Linked DNA regions of Homo sapiens: all the other regions are linked to region 1. The links are contacts of gene promoters, found by promoter capture Hi-C in blood cells and fetal thymus (Javierre and others, 2016). All regions are on one chromosome and are shown on one strand. Each heading gives the region's core, a stretch centred on a gene start or on the middle of the fragment in contact. The rest is flanking DNA. Distances are from core to core; before and after follow the strand shown. Region 1 holds the start of GAD1 (glutamate decarboxylase 1). Region 2 holds the start of HOXD12 (homeobox D12). Region 3 has its middle 9.0 kb from the start of EVX2.

What was found. Contacts are between HindIII fragments. The CHiCAGO score rates a contact against its expected background, and 5 or more counts as called.
Region 2: the fragment with the promoter of HOXD12 here is called in contact with the fragment with the promoter of GAD1 in region 1 in 2 of 17 cell types (total B cells and naive B cells); the score reaches 17.6 in total B cells.
Region 3: a fragment that was not itself captured here is called in contact with the fragment with the promoter of GAD1 in region 1 in 1 of 17 cell types (total B cells); the score reaches 8.7 in total B cells.

What each region holds. Positions count from the first base shown.
Region 1 is chr2:170,815,140-170,818,804 of GRCh38, reverse strand. GAD1 (glutamate decarboxylase 1) reads right to left here and starts at 1,918. Exons shown (of 17, transcript NM_000817.3): 1 at 1,757-1,918; 2 at 132-276. The coding sequence starts at 213. It overlaps GAD1-AS1 (GAD1 antisense RNA 1), which reads left to right and starts at 154. Exons shown (of 4, transcript NR_197761.1): 1 at 154-419; 2 at 890-1,087; 3 at 1,773-1,951; 4 at 2,320-3,665. RefSeq lists enhancers at 1-3, 4-527, 1,767-1,936 and a silencer at 2,024-2,103. The HindIII fragment of the contact is 11,655 bases long and covers 1-3,665 here.
Region 2 is chr2:176,097,798-176,101,462 of GRCh38, reverse strand. HOXD12 (homeobox D12) reads right to left here and starts at 1,668. Exons shown (of 2, transcript NM_021193.4): 1 at 1,088-1,668; 2 at 1-941. The coding sequence starts at 1,661. The coding sequence ends at 703. RefSeq lists enhancers at 1,081-1,813, 3,355-3,665. The HindIII fragment of the contact is 6,365 bases long and covers 1-3,665 here.
Region 3 is chr2:176,073,169-176,076,833 of GRCh38, reverse strand. No RefSeq gene overlaps it. Among named protein-coding and RNA genes, the nearest start is that of EVX2, 9.0 kb to the left of the region's middle. RefSeq lists enhancers at 152-1,492, 3,664-3,665. The HindIII fragment of the contact is 1,123 bases long and covers 1,322-2,444 here.

The sequences.
Region 1 (3,665 bases), core at 669-3,168:
AGCCCCATTTATTTCCCAGCCTCCATTATCTCCGCGCTCCCCCTTCCCTTTCCGCCAGCTCAGCCTCCCGACGTCCCAGCGCCCCCATCTTCCCTGCAGTTCATTTGATAGAAAATTGGGGCGGGACCTACTTGTGGGGCGCAGGTTAGTGGTATTGGGGTCCGCTCCCGCGTTCGAGGAGGTTGCGGACGAAGATGGGGTCGAAGACGCCATCAGCTCGGTCGTCCCGGGGCCTCTACTGTCCAGAGTCCTCGACTGGTCCGGCGCAGAAACAGGCTGCAAAGAGAAGCGAGAGCTGTGCGGGGAGGACTTCCGGGGTCCTGCACACCGGAGGGACTGAGCAGCCGGGGGCACGGAGGCTCCCCTTGAAGATCCGGCTCTGGAGAGACAAGAGGGAGGAAAGGCAGCGAGCCTGCCTGGTAGGGGTGCGCAGGGGTGGGGGCAGCGGAGGAGACGTGCGCGCTAGCTCCGGTACTGGGGCGCAGGGAGCGTAGCCCTGGGCCGCTCTCGAGTCTGGCGGTGCATCGGCGCGACCTGGAGTGAAGCGCCGAGACGAGGCGGGGTCGGGGTCGGGGTGGGGGTCCAAGGCCAGTACAAGACGCAAGGGTGTGGGGGACTAGGCTAGGAGCACAGGGGAGCGCTCAGTGAGCGATTTTCCAGCCGAGCCGCTACAAGCCCCATTGGGCACTCAGCAGCCGGCGTGTGGGCCAGCGGGGGGAGGGCGCACGGGGCGGGCATGTCTGGTTCGGTGTCTGGTTCCCGTTGTTGTGTCTGGCTAATTCCCTGGAAAGAAAGAGGCTAACTGCTCCGGGGACTAGGGACTTTGGTGAGACAAGGTGAGAGGGGGAAAAAGGCCCATATCTTTACGTTCTCCCTCGGACTTGGCCAGAGAAGAACCACAGTCACCTTGCACTCCAGACAGCCAGAAAGCAGCGAGTCGGAATGTTGCTTGCCTCCCTCTTATCCCAGCCGGTTTTTAGCCATCGCTAAGCCTAGGGCGAGGTTTCGGTCCGGTTTCAGCGTTTCTCCTCTACCTAGCCCCCTGAGGACCCCAGATTTCTCGCGGTACAGATCCAGAGAGGGTGGGGTAAGTAAGCATGGGGAACGTCACCGGGGAAACGAACTTGCGCGCAGCGCGCAGGAGGCGGCGGACAAAGATCTTGCGCGGCGCCCCTGCTCGACTCTCGGCGCTGGCGCGATGGCGCCCGAAGGCCCCGGGACAGAGAGATTGCGGGCTAATCTGGGTAGATCGAGGACCCCACAGAGAAGGGCCCACCGGCCATCGCCTCCACACCCTCCCTCCGACCTCACTCCTAGCCCCGCGCGCGCAGTCGCACAGCAACTCGGGCAGCGGGTCGACTACGGCCCCTGGAAAAGTAACAGGTTACCGTTCCTAGTAGCGCCTTCGGCTGCTGCTGCCCAGGCGCCCTTTGGAGGGACAGGCGCTCGCAGCATGGAAGCTCAAGGGAAAATCGCTCTTGCCCCACTTCAACTAGAGCCTCAGCCTCCGTGCTTCCCCGGGGCGTGAATCCGGAGGGCAGGGATAAGAAGAGTGACGAGGGAGGCGGGGGGGGGGGGGTCCCTGCGCAGCGCACCCGTGGAGAGCAGGGACTAGGGCGGGCAGGAAGCACTCATTTCGGGAGGTTGGGTGGCCGGCGCTGGGATGGGGTTGGTTGAGAAGCCGCGGGAGGAGAGGACCTGGCTGAAAAGCCACGGTTGGGCGCTGGGAAGTCCAGGTGGTCGCTAGCTTACCCACCTCGGCTCTGCGACAGCGAGCCGGGCACTCCCGCCTTTCCTCTGCACAGCGCCCAGCGATCCGCTCGGCTCGGCCCTGACAGGCGTAATCTGCCCGGCGTCACCTCCAGCTGCTTCCTCGTTCTCGCTAGTTCCCTCTCGCACGCGAGCGCCAGGAGAAGAGAGAGATTCGGAGAGGCGGCTGCACGGCTCCGGGGTAGGCGGGGGCAGAGTGGGGAGGCGGGGACCGGATCGGCGGGGAAATCACGAGGCCGTTGCTCGCGGGGGCAGCTAGTCGGCGGAGCGGCGGGGCTCCTCTGCAGGTGCCTGACCGCCTCTGGAGCTTTATAGGGCGATTATAAATCCAGCTCACGGTTTTGCGCCCGGAAGGAAAAAAAAAAGGTCTTATGAGTAATCCAGAACGTACTCAACACGCTTTTTTTTTTTCCTTTGGAAATAGGCAGGCTGTCGGGTGAGAGGAGGGAAAAGATAATTCCTACGAAGAATTCTGCCTTTCTGAGCGTTTCTTCTTCCCTCCCCTCCTTTCCCCTCTCCCATTTCCCCTCCCCCTCCCATATATTGTAGGAGACGAGCGGCGGTTTTGCCTCAGTGCTTTTCCCCGGGGTTCCCCCAGATCTGTGACCCTGCGACGCTTCCTTGAGCGAAAGCGCGCTTTGGGTCGTGTCCTCGTTGGCTCTCTACGGAGCTGGGATTGTTGTAACCGCAAAGGAGGCAGAAATGAGGGGAGACCTCTTAGACCATGGAGGAATTACAGTTTCCTCATCCAGCCCTGGGCCCCATCAAAGTACCACACCTGGCCACAGCTACCCAGTGCCACCGGCAGAGAAAAGGACCCCGCGTCCCTTTTGCTATGCGCTCGCTCCTCGCTTTGGCCCCCTTGGTGATGGGAAAAGAAGGCCTCCTGATTAATCACGTTTGAAGGTTGATGACACGCACGAGCGCCGCTGCACGCGCATGGGGCACCCGAGCACAGAGGTGCCCGGAAGGGGCGGACCAGCCCCCCTTGCCCTGGCCCGCTCCCCCTTCGATTTCACGCGCTTTAAGGATTCTCCCTTTGCAATATTTAGGCGTAGTTAAAAGAACCGCTGCGTTGGGAGAAGCCCCTCGCCGTAAAAATGCGTTGAAAGAGAAATTCCCACCAGAGGGCGCCAAGAGCCCAGAGACGGAGAGGCCCTGCGCTCCCGGGTCTCTCCGCCAGCGCCCGAGCGGAGCCCACACCTGGAGCTGCTGGCCAGACGGTTACGCGCCGGCTTGCCTCTTCATGCCTTCCCTCACCGCCCTGTCACTAGTTTAAGTTCTCCCCTTTCTTCTCCCCCAGTTTTTTTCTTTAGGGCAAAAATGTTGATGTCTGTGCGTGTCTGGGTGACACCGTGTAGGCAGTGATTCCTTTACTGGTATTTACCGTGGTCCTCCCCCTCTCCCCAGGTGGTGCAGCACGCAGGGGTTATTTATGCGCACGTCTGGGGCCTCACTGGTTCAGCGGAGGCCCGTCCGTTTTCTTTGAATGCCTTATCGCCTTTCACCACAACACAATGGAAACACACACAAAAATATTATAAATTACCGAGAGTTCCATAAGGGAGATCGAAGGGTCCGCCCTGGGCAGACATGGCCTGATCAGCAAGAGGGATCTCGCTGTGGGGTTTGAAATAATCGCGTTGCCTTTGGTACTAAAGAAACTACTGTTTTGTCGCCTTGTCTCCACCTGACGATGAAATCCCCGGCACTTTTTAAGGACACAAAAAACATCCTAAACGGCGGGGCGCGCGGTGACTGCAGCCCCGGGCACTGAGGCTTGGGGCTGGACAGGCTGGGGGTGTCTGCTCCACGTAGGAAACGTCCCCCCAAACCACTCAACCGGCAGCTGCTCTGCGCTGCTTGAAGTGGGCGGCATACAACCAGGTGAAGCT
Region 2 (3,665 bases), core at 419-2,918, 5.3 Mb before region 1:
ATATTCTACCCAGCTGGAAATAGGCCAGCCTATTTCGCATTTCTCATTTCGAGATATCTCCAAGTTTACCCCACTACCCAGCCCCTCCCCTTCCCTCCCTTTTCCTCCCAAAGTCTGAAGATCTAGTGTGGCTTTTGTTCTCTCAAATCAGCCAGGGCAGACAGGAGGGTGGAGGGTGGATGGTGCCCTTTCCTTTCTCCAGAGTGAAGATCCTGGCCTTGCCACAAAGGGCTTCTGCTGCAGAGACCTAATTGTACCCACAGTCCTTTCCATTCCCTCAGGAGGCCTTCCACTCTGAGCCCTAACTAGGCGACTGCTATACGCTGAAGGGGCTGGAGAGAGGGGGAAAGGGAGAACGAATTGGGTGGAAACAGAAAAATCCAGGTACCGGGGAGCAAGAATGAGCGGTGGGTGCAAATGCCCCAGCCAGGAGCAAGGAGAGTTGGCCTCAGTCCCCCAACGTGGAAGCCTTAAGGCCAGCCAGAGTTGCACTGGTACTTCCGCACGTTTCTCACGGGCTTCTCAGGGACTGAGGAAAGCAAGGAGGCCCAACTGGCCTGGTCTGTAAATCTCTTGGTGGCTTCTGGGGCCAGCAGAGAAGGAACCGAAGGAAAAGCCTTAGCCTTAGCCCCAGATCCCCCTCCCCAAACAAGGCCTCTGTCCAAAAGGGCAGATCCAACCCGGCCCTGGCCACGCGCGCGGCTAGTAGAGCGCCAGCGCCTGCTCCCGAAGCACCACGCGCTTCTTCTTCATACGCCTGTTCTGGAACCAGATTTTGACTTGCTGGTCGCTGAGGTTCAGCCTATTGGACAATTCCTTGCGTTTCTGCCTGTTGATGAATTCGTTGACGAGGAATTCGTTCTCCAACTCCGCAATCTGCTGCTTCGTGTAGGGTTTCCGCTTCTTGCGGGCCCTCCCCGGGGCCGCCCCCCACGGCAGGCCTGCAACACAGCCCCAACCCACGTCAACCCAGCCCGTACTCTGTCTATTGCCCGCCCCCAGGCGGTTCACCTCCCCTTACACTCTCCCTTGAACCCCACCTCCCATCCCGGCCCAAACCGGCCCGGGGAGCATGGGCACCGTTTACCGTCGGGCAGTGAAGGTCGCAGGCAAGAGGCAACGCCCGCCGCCTGCACTGTCATGTTCAAGTTGAGCGGGCCCTTGGTGTCGTCCTTGAAGCCAGGGGCGCAGGGAGCCCCCTGGAGCAGGGTCGTGGAGCCCGGCGTGGCACGACCCACACCAGCGTAGTCATACTTGGCCGCTTTGAGAGCAGCCACTGCAGGAGCCAGGCTAGACTCGGGGGCGAAGGACGGCCGGGTACGACCGCGCTCCTCTGGCCCAGCGGCCGCTTCGGGCGCATAGAACTTAGCCTGCTCTTCGGGTCCGTCTTTGGCTGTTGGGGGCTGCAGGCCGAGAGGCCCGGAGCCAGCCAGGTAGGGCTGCGAGAAGCCGCCGAAGGCAGTGGCGCCCGCAGGCTGCGCGGGGGCGCAGGAGGCGGGCGTGGCGGCCCAGGGCAGCGCGCCGCGCGGGTAGGAGATAGGGGGAAGCGCGGCCAACTGGCCGCCATTCGGCCTCAGGTTGGAGAAGTAGAAAGAGTCTGGCGACTGCAGATTCAGAAGCGAGCCCACATAGCCCGCTCTGTAGAGACTGCGCTCACACATCTCCAACAAAGGGCTTCGGCTGCGCTCGCAACAGTATTTAGTTACAACCGGGAATAAGAGGACAGGCTCAGACGATTGGACGAAACTTTGCCTGCAGGTTCTTCAAAGCCGGTCATTTCAGCACCGCCTACATCCCCCCGACCCGTTTTCCCCCCCTTCAGAGTATTATGATAACACCCGCAATGTTCGATGGCGAAGGACGAGGCTGCCAGCAGAGCCAAATCAGGTTGAGCGAAGACTAACTGTCTGCGGGTTTCCAGGCCCGGCTTCAGCAGCTGGGGACATCGGGCAAGAGGGTGACTCTGCCCAAGTGTCCCCTGGGACTCTTCTTGGTCGTGATTGGCTTTGCGATTCGTTTTCCGCAGGCTTTCTGGGCCCGGCTTGCTTCTACCGGCTTTAAGTTGCAGCGGAGGCATTTTCCATTAACCGGCGCCTCTCGACTTATCCGGAGAGGGCGCGGTCCGGCGGCACCAGGAGCTCTGTCCCTTGGCCTGAGCAATGTCACTTTTACCCCAATCACTCCCACAGAGAGGGTTTCTCCAGAGACCTCTGCCTGAGGATCTGGCAGCAAAGACCCATTCGCTACTTGAGCCCTCAGTCCCAGGCCGCAGACACAAAAAGGGCATCACAAACTACCCAATTTTGGGATCCAGGAAGGAGGCCACACTATTTCTGGTTTGTGTCCCCATGGCTAAGAACTCTGATCATAGGGAAATTGCCATACAGGTCCATGGAGAATGTCCGCCAGGGAACCCATCAGCTCGATCCACCAATCGTGGCCAAAGGCTACATTCCTTTTATCTTCAGGAGTCCTCTCCAGGACTACACACTGCAAACCAGAACTCCGAGGTGTCCCCATCCACCAAGTGGAGGGCAAAGCAGGACGAACTCCCCCGACTGGGTGTGGAAAGGCAGAAGAGCCAGAACCACCTGGCCGGGGAACAGCGGGCGTTCGGAGGCAGCTGGCTAGCAGAGTTCCTTGCCTCAGCGCCCCCAGGGGTGCCGGGGATAGGGAGTTCACGGGTCTGACAAACAGGGAAGTGGGAAAGGCAGCAGTTCTTAGCCGGGAGCGGTGTGCTCAGACCCCGTCGCTGGCCCTCTTGCCTAGTCCGGCCAGAGGACTAGGGGTCCTCCCCTCCTGCCTCTGATCCCAAGACCCTGGGAGACCCGGTGACCGGCGCCAGTCTCAGCCTGCAGCAGGACCCTCGGTCTCCGAGCCAAGCTGGAATTGGTTAGATCGCGGGCTCCTGCACTGAGACCACACAGGCGCCGCCGGAGGGCAAGACTGACCGCCGCGCTGCCACTTTATTGTGTGAGTTATGGCGACCAATTGGGTGGCTCTGGGGAACGCAATCGGCCTCTTCCTCCTGCTCTGGTGGGGGGGAGAGAGGGAGTGAGGACGGGGGGGTGGGGATGTCTGGGGCTCCTCTGGCTCTGCCAGAGAGTTTCCTTAGGAGCCCAGGCATAGAGACTCACTCGCTCTCGTCCTCTCTTGGGAGGTGGGGGCAAGCACAAACTGCAATCCCAGTTCCTAGATACTCAAGGGAATACAAGCCTCAGATCCCTAAGAGCTCTTATTTTGGGGAACCCATCCTATTTTCGAGGAGCTGCAGCTTCGTTACTCCCGAAAGCTCCAGCTCCAGGGGTCCCTGCAGTCTCTCCTCACGTTTCAGTGCACGACGATTCCTCGTTATTTCCAAGCCGAGGGGTGTCTCTTTCGGACCTTTAGGCAGCCCTACAACAGCTGTTTGCGCCTCAGGACTAAAGGCATAAAAGAACTCAGTGAAAAACAGGAAAAACAAGAACAACTAGGTTCCCTCCATTGCTCCTTGGACAGTCTTCCCACTTCATCCCCCGGGTTTATGACTTTCGAGGTCTGGCAGGCAAAGTCTTATGCGAGCTGGGGAACCTGATCGAGGGAGGATCGGGGTGGAAAGTAGTGGCGGGAGAGTGGCTTGGCTGGTGATTAAGAGAATGGAACAGGATTTGGCTGAGGAGCGAATA
Region 3 (3,665 bases), core at 634-3,133, 5.3 Mb before region 1:
ATATGATTTCCCCTCTTCCTTCTTTCTTTTGCTTTGGTACTTCAGCCCTGTTTTTCTTTCCCAATCCTATCTTCTTTCCCGAGTTCAGTCCACCTCTTCGTGTATTTACAGATCTGTCTTAAAATCGATATTTCGATGGCAAAATGCAAGAGTCAATGGTGTGTGCAAAGCAGTCTATTCGATTTAAAAACCAAGATGTCCCTTCCTCGAAATTTTCTTTTTCCAACTGCTCACCCTGGCATTAATTACAACGATGAGGACACTACTGGGAATACAGAGGCTGCGATCACAAGCCATTTTGGCCTGTAATTTACCATTATTATTGCATTAGCTCTAAATGATACAAGCTGATACCGTCTTTAATTGCAGGTTGGTTAAATATATACTGAAGTAATCCCAAGGGTTCCCTCCCCCTCGATAAATTCTTTTCTCTCTTTCCCCTTCTCTCTTTTCTTGAACTCCCCCATTAAAGAAATACGATTATAGCAGCACATTTGGACTGGTGATGTATCACCCTGGTTTTCGGTGCTCTTTGCTAACTCGGGGGTTGTAACCCTTAAAAACAAAAGCATTGAGATAGATGGGCCAGCAAACGGAAAAAGACAGTGGCCAAAAAACCCTGTCCAAAATAACAGCATTTTTTTTGTCTCGAGTGTGCAAAGAATGAAAAAATAATTCATCATAAAATGCAGAAGACTGTCTGTCATCAAGCCCGAATTGTTTTTGACAAGAAAATAAATCTGTAGGTTGTTTAATATATTTTATATTTTCTTTATTTCGTCGCTAATGGAAAAACCAAATTAAATGTCCACTAGCGAGATAGAAATGCAAAGATCGATGATCCACCCCCCTACTGTCCAATCACCCCTATTTAATTGACTGTATTTTCTGGGTAATTGAACTGCTTGTTGTAAATTGAAGATTTTATAGAAACGACATGAAAACTACATTTACTGACATTCATCGCATCTTTGACATTGATTATCTGATCAACGCATGTCACGGTAACCTCCAATTCTTCATTACACACTGTTTATGAGCTGTTACAGAACAACTTGCTTGTTCCAGGGTGATTGATTGCCTTATTAACGCGTGTTCTTGTAAGTGTGACCGAACTGATTACGATGCATATGTTTAGAATAATGTTTCATTTAGCTGACTGCGAGTAATGCAGGGTGACAGCTGCTGCAGGGAGGACAAAAAAACCTGAACTACAGGGCGCGTTTGGGACCAAAAAGCCCAAGTTATTTAAGGTGGAACGGACCACCCCGAGAGGAAATTCCAGAGCTTGTTGCTGCTCCTTAGTCGCTCGGAGGAAGCTTACCCTGGCATCCCCGCCCTCCAAACTCAGAAATATGAAACATTTGATGAAACAATCGCTACCCTCTGCAATTAAATAAGTTATGAAGACTAAATATATGGTAAGGGTTTTCCTCTTGTTACTTCTCTTCCATAAATTGTATTTCTTTTTCTTCCCATAATGCTCCGGTGTCCTGGATTTTTAGGTGCAAAAAGAACAAGCAAAGAAATTTACCTTTGTAAAAATCTACTTACTTACACACAGCTCCAAACTCAAAATTCTTCAGTCTGCTATGGATTCCAGGAAAGGTGTCCTTTCAATCCTACCCATCCTGAATCCGCTAAAGGAAGACTTATAACTCTCCCTCCCGCTAAAACTTGAGTCCCTTTCCTGGGCTTTCTGAGGAAGGAAAGTGACCTTTTCCTTTGCCAAGGCCCTGAGCGTTTTTCCTAGGCCGATCAGGTCAGAAGCTGGAGTGCATTTTGGTTTTAGGCTGAACCTTTATTGGCAGCTCTCCCAAACCCCAGTCATCAAAGGCCTACACCTGGAGACCCTGGAGAGCAGCGTAGGGCTCACGCTATAATTTGTCTGTTAATGTTATGAGCCATGATTTGATCAGAAGTGGGGATCTACTTTCAAGTAGCATTCTGAGTTTCCTCTCATAAGGAACCAAAGAAGGGGACATAGAGCCCTGCAGTGGTCATGAGAAGTCAGTCTCTTTTCCTTTCCTCTTTTTCCACCTAGGACTGGCTGCACAATTTTTGGTCCCAGTGCAAAATGAACATGTGGGCCCCTTGTTCAAAAGTTATTAGGAATTTCAAGAGGGCAACAACAGAACATCAAATCAAGCTGGGGGGTGGCTTTTAAGCCCATCACCCTGTGTGACTACAAAGATCCCCACCCACGAAGCCTGCCCTGTCTCACCCCCTCTCAGATGGAGAGACTCCCCTTGAGTTTAAATAACTTATCCCAATAAAAGACTGGCTTGGGAGTAGAGAGGGAGAAATGTAGGGGGTTATGGCTCCTGGGGGCACCTCCCCTTTCTTCAGTGACCTTTTGGCCTGATCCCTTCTCTTTCTTTGGAGCCACTCTCACCTCAGCTTCTCTGACCTAAGGTCTGGGTCCAAAGAATCTCATGGAAGCTTCCTGAACCACTTCTGAGGTGGGAAGGGTCACCCTCTCTTCCAGCTTCCTTTACACCAATTTGCAAAGTATCCACAACTAAGCTCATCATCCCTGACTTAGGAAAACCAGAATCAAGGTGTCTCTGCCTGTGACGGAAACCCAGGGGAGGAGGGGTGGTGGCGGGGGTGGGTTGGGAGGATAGTCCAGTCTGCAAACGAGAAAAGGGGCAGGCTGGTGTTTCTGAGGTTTGAACTCAGAGCAGGCACTTTGGAGTAAAACCAGTGACCTCCAGACCCTGTGGTATTCCCAGCCAAGTTGGGGAGGGCTGGCAGTGGGGGTCTTGGTTTTCCTGGAGCGATGGGAAAGCATGCTGTGAAAATGCTTTTTATAGATTCTCCCACCTCCACCCCAATCTTATTTTAATAAATACATCCTCAGGCATTATTTACAAGCTCACATAATTTACCTATGCTATTTGGCAAAGCAACTTCGCAAAAGAAAGTGAATGAATAAATACTTCATAACTGCTGGTAGAGCAGACTGGGTCCTGTAATGAAGAAAAGATTTATGTCACCTTATTTCAGCCCAAATAGCAGCAGCCTCGGCTTGTCTCAGCCCAGTGCTTCTATTTAAATGTTACTTTCATATATTATGTGGCATTAATTTAACTATAGCTCATTAAGGCAGAATGAAATGGTTAAATTAACTTATCAACCCATAATGATGATGAATGAGGTATTAATTCAGATACAAGCTGGGCAATTTGCAAGTTTACGCATTGTGATGGTTCTCAAATAACATTTTGAATAGCGGGTCAGCGCCTCAATCAATTACATAAGCATGTAAAGTTGGTCTCTCAGAAAAAAAATCCTTTTTCATGCATATGCATTAAAACATGTTCGCAATTATCCTCGGAAATTGCCTTCATTGGATTAAGCAGCAGCCTTGGACGCGGGTTCTGATCTTCCCTGGGCTTTTATTAAAGCTCTGAGCAGCTTTGGCAATAACAGGGCGGATGGGCTGTTTGTTTAAAGAGTGTTTACCAAAGAAAAGGGCCGACGGGGTGTGCTGGTTGATAAACAGGGATCTACCTCCTTGGGAGAAGTTGTTAGGAATCGTCTGACTGCCCCGAGGCTGAGGAGGGAACCCTGTCAGCCCAGACATCGGCTCCGGGGCTTCGGCTTTCCGGGCTAGTAATTAACTGCCACCTCAAAACCAGCCTTGGGTTCAGGCTGTGCTC